Regions from separate parts of the Homo sapiens genome. Here all the other regions are linked to region 1. Evidence: promoter capture Hi-C in 16 types of primary human blood cells and fetal thymus (Javierre and others, 2016). All regions are on one chromosome and are shown on one strand. The core of a region is centred on a gene start or on the middle of the fragment in contact, and the rest is flanking DNA. Distances in the headings are between cores, read along the strand shown.

The links. The method cuts DNA at HindIII sites, captures the fragments that hold promoters and counts their contacts. A CHiCAGO score of 5 or more calls a contact.
Region 2: the fragment with the promoter of RNF40 here is called in contact with the fragment with the promoter of ZNF267 in region 1 in 10 of 17 cell types (fetal thymus, non-activated CD4 T cells, naive CD8 T cells and 7 more); the score reaches 11.6 in fetal thymus.
Region 3: a contact is called between the fragment with the promoter of SRCAP here and the fragment with the promoter of ZNF267 in region 1, in 1 of 17 cell types (fetal thymus). The highest score is 5.1, in fetal thymus.

Annotation. Positions count from the first base shown.
Region 1 is chr16:31,872,507-31,875,217 of GRCh38, reverse strand. ZNF267 (zinc finger protein 267) reads right to left here and starts at 1,411. Exons shown (of 4, transcript NM_003414.6): 1 at 1,249-1,411. The coding sequence starts at 1,251. RefSeq lists silencers at 1,130-1,209, 1,360-1,409 and an enhancer at 1,296-1,590. The HindIII fragment of the contact is 12,710 bases long and covers 1-2,711 here.
Region 2 is chr16:30,760,707-30,763,655 of GRCh38, reverse strand. It overlaps RNF40 (ring finger protein 40), which reads right to left and starts at 1,334. Exons shown (of 20, transcript NM_014771.4): 1 at 1,296-1,334; 2 at 979-1,181; 3 at 371-538; 4 at 97-238. The coding sequence starts at 1,110. It overlaps PHKG2 (phosphorylase kinase catalytic subunit gamma 2), which reads right to left. Exons shown (of 10, transcript NM_000294.3): 10 at 2,480-2,949. It overlaps CFAP119 (cilia and flagella associated protein 119), which reads left to right and starts at 1,594. Exons shown (of 9, transcript NM_001014979.3): 1 at 1,594-2,111; 2 at 2,427-2,458. The coding sequence starts at 1,908. RefSeq lists enhancers at 1,016-1,125, 1,246-1,505, 993-1,630, 1,586-1,765, 2,356-2,505 and 1 more and a silencer at 2,042-2,271. The HindIII fragment of the contact is 4,015 bases long and covers 1-2,949 here.
Region 3 is chr16:30,697,917-30,700,616 of GRCh38, reverse strand. SRCAP (Snf2 related CREBBP activator protein) reads right to left here and starts at 1,446. Exons shown (of 34, transcript NM_006662.3): 1 at 1,375-1,446; 2 at 636-709; 3 at 1. LOC730183 (a long non-coding RNA gene) reads left to right here and starts at 1,557. Exons shown (of 2, transcript NR_144637.2): 1 at 1,557-1,736; 2 at 2,686-2,700. RefSeq lists silencers at 1,426-1,655, 1,796-2,205 and enhancers at 1,375-1,669, 2,326-2,515, 2,546-2,635. The HindIII fragment of the contact is 7,629 bases long and covers 1-2,700 here.

The sequences.
Region 1 (2,711 bases), core at 162-2,661:
TCATCCCAGACAGTTCTGAAATTCAGGAACAGGAAAAGACTGGATAGAGGGTGGCTATACAGGGCCCTGTAAAGTTTCCAAAGCAAAACCTCAAGTCAAAAGACATTCTTTCCGATAACGTGTCTGTGCCTGGGGAAGATGAATGAAAAAGAGGCACAGTTTTTTTTGCAGTGGAGTGTCAGGGATTTTTTATTCTCTGCTTTCCTCTCACGTGAAATGTATGCCAAAAAAACACAAATCTTTAAAAAAGTGTCATCCACTGCTCTGTGAAATCATGATTAATGAGTAAAATACTGTCTGAAATGTACAATAAATGACCAATAGTTAAGAATGTGAACTGGAGAGGGGAAGTTGGCCTTTGGAAATGTCGGGAAGGAACTGGAAATTTAATATTTTATTGCAAGCCCAGTTAGACTGGGGGAACACAGTGGTGGACTTGAGACTCTGCGTGCTACACGTTAGGAAAGCGCAGGGGGAAAACCAGTTCCCCTGGGCAGTGTTAAGATGATTAATGAGCAGGCGATTATACGGAAGTGGTTATAGTGCCCCAGGTTTCTAGGGAGAAAAACCAAAACCAAACTCAAATGCTTTTCTTGTAAATTACAACTTTAGGGGAAAACAAAATTCAGACTTAACGAACCACAAAGCTCCAATTCACCTCCACCTGCATAGTCTAAATAAGGCAACTACAAACTGTAACCCATCGGTTAATTTGGTCTGCTTCCTCATGCACCTTATAAAAACCTTTCCTTCAAGCCCCTCTGGGGATCTCCGAACCACAAACCAGGACTGCAGGCTTCCCATGTCACAAATCGCTATTTGCTCAAATTCTTCAACGTTTTAACAGTGACTCCCTTTAATTCTTAAGAGGAGTAGTGACTGAGGACCCCACAGGGCACGGTTTCTTCCCACACACCGAACCTGGGTCTCCCCTGAGACGCTCCCGTCCTCACCGCACAATCTGGGGGAGACGCGGGGCTGCGACGCGGAGCTGCCCAGAGAGGGCTCCGGCCAGGGACGAGGTCGCTCTGCGGGGTCGGGATGGGACAGGACACGCGGGGTCCCGGCTGCCGGCCTGGCCGCCATCTTGCAGCGGAGGGGACCGAGGGCCGAGCTGCACCAGTTGGGACTCGGGGCCCAGACCCCGAGGCTGACTGCGGGGAGGCCCGGGTGCCCCTACAGCGGGTTCCCGCCGCTTCCGACCACCGCCCTCCCTCCCTCTGGGGACCCCCGACCCCGCACACTCACCATTTCCCAGCTTCCGGGATGCCCTGGCGTCTTAGCTACGAATCTCCCAGTGCCTGCAAGTCGCAGAGCAACAGAGGTTCTGTTTATTCTCAGAACGCGAAGCCGCCTGGGCCTCCCAGAACGAAAGACTCGGAGCTGTGGCGAGGAGACCCGAGCTCTAACTGGAGCCGACGAAGGCCCCCGCCAAATCCCGGAAGCCGCCCCTGCTCTCCGGCTTCACTCCTGATTGGACGGTTTCCACTCCAGCGCCCCTGATTGGATAAAGCTCCATGCCCCGCCCCCTCATTATTAGTGCCTTTTTTTTTTTTTTTTTTGAAAGGGAGACTGGCTCATTGAGGTGGGGCCGCCTGCTGCGGGTATTACAGCTAATTAAGGGGTGAGCTGCGACTTGAAATACACTTGCTCTTTCCCTTACCTGGTTCTGCTTGTATAAGACATCTTATTAGCTAATTAAGTTTAAGAAGAAGTATATTTAGACACCTTTAAAGCAAGAAAGACCCTCATCCCGTCCCTTAGCACCTCTCTTACCGCACTGTACCCCACTGCTAACGCCACCGTGGGAGGGGGCCCCTCAGCTGGGAACAGAAGGCCGTACACTTCATTCACGTGTTTTCAATTAGGCCCTCGCATGATACATAGACTGAACCAGTGCAAAAGCATCTTATAGGGGCATGCAGGCTGGGGTCCCAGGAGGATGTTGCGGGCCGTGGTGGAACGTGGAAGAGGGGCTGGCCTATTCTTCTAATCTACAACTCTGCCCGCATCTCCTGGAGTCTGCATCACTGGTAACGGGGCCGCTGACTGTCCGTCTGTCTCTCCTTCTCAATCCCTTCAAGCTCAGGGAAGAAGGGTCCTTGGCAGCGACAGGGCTGGGAGCTCAGTTCCTCTGGGCCGTGCTGGCTCAGGCTCTGTGGCCACGGACTCCTCAGCCCTACCTCTGGTTTTTGCTTTTGTTTTGAGACAGGGTCTCACTCTATTGCCCAGGCTGGTGCAGTGGTGCAGTCATGGCTCACTGCAGCCTCCGGGGCTCAAGCAATCTTCCCACCTCAGCCTCCTGAGTAGCTGGGACTACAGGCACATGCCACCATGCCCGGCTGATTTTTGTATTTTTTGTAGAGATGAGGTTTCACCATGTTGCCCAGGCTGGTCTCCATCTCCTGAGCTCAAGCGATCCTCCCACCTTAGCCTCCCAAGTAACTGGGGCTACAGGTTAATAGTCAGTTCGCCAACTCCTGAGCTCAAGTATTCTGTCTGCTTTGACCTGCCAGAATGCCCTATTCCTGTTTTTCTGGAGTCTTGGAGCTAGTGGCGCTGCAGCACCTCGTAGTCTTCCGGCTGAGTAGATTCTCCTAGTCTTCTGGCTGAGTAGAAGGTGGGAGAGGAGGTGGGTGTCAAACTGGGCCAGGGCCCTCGGCCGCCATCTAGCTTGGTTAAACTCCCACTTGGGACAGATCAGGCTCTGT
Region 2 (2,949 bases), core at 85-2,584, 1.1 Mb after region 1:
AAGATAGGCAATTCAGGGGCCCAACACCAAAGTCCCCTCCTCCCCAGGACTTCTCCCAGAACTTAAGCTCCCCAGATCCCAGCACTCTGGTCCTACCTCTCAGCTCTGATGTCCCCGGCTCTGGGAGAGGAGTCCCATCACATGTTGGCCCCTCCTGGGTCCCAGGTGCCTCAGGCGCTGAAGACAGCTCCCCCTGGCTCTCATGGCATCGGAGAAGGGCTTCCACAGTTTCATCCAGCTGGAAGGAGAAAACATCAAAAATGTTATGAATCCCTTAGTGCTTTCCAACATGATACTCCTTTCCTAGCAGGGGAATCTGGGGATTGGCAGCTGAATCAAGGCCTGGTCTTTGAAAGCAGAAGGTATCCACCTGGGCCCAGTAGCGATTGACGATGAGGAGTGTGGCATCATCTGTGGCCTGCCGCTTCTCCAACTTCTCAATTCGTTCTCGGAGTTCATCTTCACAAGCCTGCCGTTGTTCCAGCCGCTCTGCCAGTTTCTTGTTCTTGAACTGTAGTACCTTCAGGTCCATCTCCTCCTACCAAAGGAAACAAAGGGGCCGACGAGAGCGTCAAGCAGGGCCCACAAACCAATCACAGAGAGAGAAAGAGGAGCAGAGCATCTGCAATGCATGGGAGATGGAGGTATTCCCACACTAACCGCTAACAGAATCTAAGGAGGCTCAGACAACACACAGCGAAAGTGTCTTTGTTGTGAGGAGGCTCACGTTGTTTCTGCCTGTCCCCTTGTAAATCCTTAGTCTTTGACAAGTCACACGCCCCCTGGAAACCTGTTTTCCTATCTGTAAAGGGAAGACAGGCGTCGTGTTCTGAGCTTCTTTCTAACCTTTCTTTCAAGGTCCTGTAACGCGGACCTTGCTAAACTTGGGGAAGTGGGTGTAAGATTCCGCACAGTTTGGCCAGAGAACAGAGGGAGGGCTCTGGGAAGTTCTGAGGGTTAAGGCAAGAGCCCACGAACCGTGGAAGAGATGCCTCCAAGACGAATGGGCTCGATAAGAGTCGTGGTGGTCTTCTCCTCACGACTCAGCTTCTTTTCCGGGGGCCCTGAGCCCCCGTCGCCGGCGGCGCGTTTGTTGCCTGGCCCAGACATGGCCGCGGCGGCTGGAGCGATGCAGGGTCCCCTGAGGGGCGTCAAACGGGAGGAGGCGGTACTTCCGTCACCTGCAGAAGACACAGAGCAGAGATGTGGGAACGGCTGGTGTTCCACAGCCCCAAACACCCTCCACCCTGCACACACCTGCTGGATCCCGTCCCCCCCGGCGCCAGAGCCCTCACCAGCAGGAGGGTCAGCCTAGCGCCGCCATCTTGGATTTCACCGGACGTCACTGGGCGTCACTGGACGCCACTGCCCCCCCCCCAACGGTGCGCAGGGCGCAGGCGCCAAAGGCAGCCCCGGATGTGAGGAAACTTCTTTATCTTCTGCTTCTATTGGTTACGCTTGGTCCCGCCACTCGGGTCCTCTGGCTTCTTCCCAAACACCTCCTCTTTCTCTCGGTGATTGGCCAAGAGGCAGTTCCCATAGTAACTGACACCGCGCTCCCACTTCCCAGCCTGGAGGACAGCACCGGCCCTCGTATTAGCAACCTGGAAGAGAGGGCGCCCAGGTGGGCACTCGCAACTTCTCACGTATCTGCGCGTTCTCTTCGCTCCCACTGGCGTGAGCCTGCGCTTTCCGCCTTCCTTCCCTCACAAGCCCCCTTGGCAACCGTCGCCGTTGAGACGGAGGGAGACGCCCCCACGGATTCGCCCCGCCGCGCCTCTCCGCGCGTAGATTGGCCGGAGCGAGGCGAACGGGCCCGGCCTTGGTAGCCGCCGACCGAGCGCTGGCTGTCCTGGAACCTAGGCGGCGGGAGCCCGGGGCGCCTCGCGGCACGGAAGAGCGGCGAGATGCTCAACCGCAAGACCAGCCACTTTTTGGGAATGAGGGTGCAGTCGGAGCTTGAACATCTCTCCGAGCTGCGGCGGGAAGCGGGGAAGGATCGCAGCTCAGTGCATGGGTCGGCCGCGCGGACGCGTGCGAGTGTGCGGACTCAGTGGACGACGGCGGCGGCGGCGAAAGCGGATGAAGACCCCGGAGCCAACTTGTTTCCGGTGAGGGCGGGACAGTCTGGTCTGCTCGTGAATATTTATAAACCGGCTCCCCCGCAGGCGCCACCTGTCATTATGCTTACTAACGTTCGGGACGTCTCCCGGGCTGCTTGGGCGAGGAGAGGCAGGGGTGTGTGACCCCGGTGGTTACTGTGCTCGCGTAGAGCACCTAGGGCCTGCTGAAGCCCTCCCTCGCCCGCGCCTCTCCTTAGTCCTTGAGATGAGATGGCAAGTTACAGCGGCTTCTCCGGCCTGCTGGAGATTCGCTACGGGCCAGGACACCGCAGCTGCCTTCCCCAATTCGCTTTCTTTCCGCAGCCGCCGCTGCCCCGACCCCGGATCTGCATGTGGTGAGTGTGAAGAGACAAAAATTACACTGAATATTTGCGTTCTTTATTGTCTCCCCAACAGTCCTGTCTGTGGCCAGGGCATCCCCATTTTACAGATGAGACTGAGGCCTGGAGATGCAATTACTCCAGGTGACTGGAAGTTGGCTTTCCAGCCTCTCCAGTCCAAAGAGGAGGCAGTGTGAGAAAAAAAGAGCCAAAGACAGAATGTAAATGGAGTCTCATGGCCGCTAAGGAGTATTGTACAGAGGGGGACACTGAGGGCCACAGGGAGTACTTGACCAAGGTCATACAAGGTAGTGGCAGAGCAGAAAAAAGAATTCAAGATTCCTAACCCTAGGCTTTAGAAATGGAGAGGCTCATAAGAGTTCATTTAGGCCCAGAGAGTTAACGATTTGCATAGTCACACAGCAAGCTGGCAAAAGAGCCCAGCTTCACGCCGGTGGCCAACTCCCAGTCTCACGCACTAGCTGTCACAGCCTTGTCATGATAGG
Region 3 (2,700 bases), core at 197-2,696, 1.2 Mb after region 1:
CCTAAAGTAGGGTTAAAAAAAAAAAAAAAGACAGAAATGCAGTTAAAGGGGATGAAAAAGTATTTTTAAAAAACCAGAAATAACACTGAATAAAGAGAAACACAGAAATTACAGGTTACATTTCTTGAGCACTTACTATGTATAAGATACTTTTAGTACCTGTTTGATGTGTTCTATAATCCTCACACCTACCTTAAAAACCAAGTGCTTTTCACAGCATAACAAATATTGACTTCCTCCTACACACAACGGATATAGCCATGCAGAAAGGATTCCCGACCTAAATGTAGCTTACATTCTAATATAATCTGTTTTGTAAGTTACGAAGTTAAGACCTTATGATTTGCGGAAGGTTACACAGTAAAAAAGTGATAGGAGGGCTTCAATCCACAGTCTGATGCCAAAACCAAGGAAAACCTGCTACTCTTCCTGGTAGAGCCAGGTTGACCACGTTTTCCTCAACCCACAGCCTCAGTTCTGTTGTTGTACTATAATCAAACCCTCTACAGAAAAATCACATGCAAACATTCCCATGCTTCTCTAGAGTGAAAATCCCCAATACGGACCTATAATTGCTTTATCTCAAACATTTCTCCCATTAGCATCAGCACACAAAATGGTAGCAGATCCCTCACCTGTGTGAGCTGAGACCACACCCCCTGTGAAAGTCTGCACTTCCACGGTGCCGCCGTACTGAAGGGAATCACACCTGAAACATCCATCAAAGCGTATTATTTACTCCAGTTTTTTGAGACGTTTAAATATACCCAAATCAGTTAAAAGACTAGAAACAGAAAAACTACAGTAGTAGGAAAATCTCACATTTCAGGGAAATGCAAATCATGTTTTGTGAATTCCGGAGGGACATACGATCCTGCCTGGGGGCAGGAGCAGGAAAGGAGTGAAGAAAGAAAGTTCAAAAATTTTAAGTGTAAAGGCTCCAACCACAGAATGGAAGACAAAAAAAAAATACAGCAAAAAAAAGCTGTCACATCCAGAACCTCAGAAAGGTGCTACCTGCCTGCGGGCCTTTCCAGTGAGGGCTGAACGCAGAAGTGAGAGTGGAACTCCCGGGAAGAGTCAACAAACAGGCTGGTCACAGGAAAATCCGCCCAGGATTCAGGGCAGGGCGCTGTATATCCCATACCTGCGCCTTGAGACACTTCCCCAAATACAAGAACCACAGCAAAAGGAGACTCAGGAGCAGTCAAAAGCGAGAGGCCGCACTGCCAAGAACCACGCGCCGGAAACAGGCAGTGTGAACCCGCAGGAGGCCCGGAAATGCTTCCCCAGTGTTTAAGGAAATTCCTAAACCACAGTGCCGGCTTTGATTCACTCCCTACTCCGCCACACGTTCCCAAGACCCGAGCTCACCAGAAGCCAACAAGCCTTAACTCTTGACTTCAGGTTTCGTGACCATCTCCCTAGCCCTCCCGACGGACTGACCTCGCGTGACCCCTGACCTCTGCCCAAGTTGCCACTAGCCCTGAGATAGCCCCGCCCCCTCCAGACTCCCACCCCACCCAACGTGCGCGCCGGGCGGGGGAGGGGCCCGCGCGTGCGCGGCTGGAGGCGGAGCGAGCCGGCTGCGCGCACGGCCCAGGGGCTCCCGCCAGAACCCGAGCCCACGCACACAAGGGTCGCGGGGCTGGGAAGCTCGTCATCCAAGCCCGTCAGGGAGCCCCCCCATCACCCGACCGCGAAAGGCTGAGAGAAGGGAGGGTTCGTGCCACCAGGTCCTGGTCCCCCGGCTAGATGTGGTGGGCGCGCGCCCCGACTACTCGTCCCACGCCCCCCTTCCTCTTCCCGCGCGCCCCTGAGGGGTGACTGGGTTGGTGGGCGGGCAGGAGCGCACCTGGGTCCGTCCTCTCAGGGCTCGCTCGCTCGCTCGCTCGCTCAGGCACGCGTGCGCAGAAGGGCGGGAAGGGAGAGGAGACACGCCGGGGCCCAGCGCCGGCCGGCCTGACCCCCTCAGTCTGTCTCTATGGGCGCGCGCCGACAGCCTCGCGCACCGGCCCCGGGGCCCCGGCTGAGGGTGCGCGCGCAGCACCCCGGGAAGGTGGGGGGGAGGCGGTGGCGGAAAGATGCGCGCGCAGTCAGCCGTCATGGGAGGGGGAACTGTGGGGCGTTCGCCATCTTGTCTCCCTCTCCTTACCTGCGTCCTCGGGGGCGTGCGCACCACCCCCCCTCCCGCCTAGGAGGGGGGAGGGCCCCCTCTTGGCCACCGCCTTCGCGGCCTTTAAACTCCCCTGGAGACTGCGGCTACTGCCACCGCCTTGCCTCCACTGCCTCTTCGCGCAGCACACAGATGCGGACGGTGGGTGGGAAAAAGGGCAGACGCTACTCCCAGCGAACCGCCGCTGCCGCTCCCGAGGCCTCACCAAAATGGCCGCCGCCGTCTCGGCCGCCACCACCACCACTACCACCACCACTCGCTCGGAATCGCTATCGCCGGCGCGGCCCGTCTTCTCGCGAGAGACAGTAACTGGAGGGTGGGGGAACGGGGAGGCTCGCGTGCTAGCGTAGGGTGCAGCACGGTGCGCAAGGCAGCCTGGGAGGTGTAGTCTCCCAGAGGCTGCGCGCTCGCCCTTCCTCGGAGCGCCTTTACCGTTTGCCCCTAGATCTACCTGGGGCTGCATTGCGGCTGCCAGCTCGGACCACCGCCACCTCCCTTTTTATTTACAGATCACCCAGTAAGCT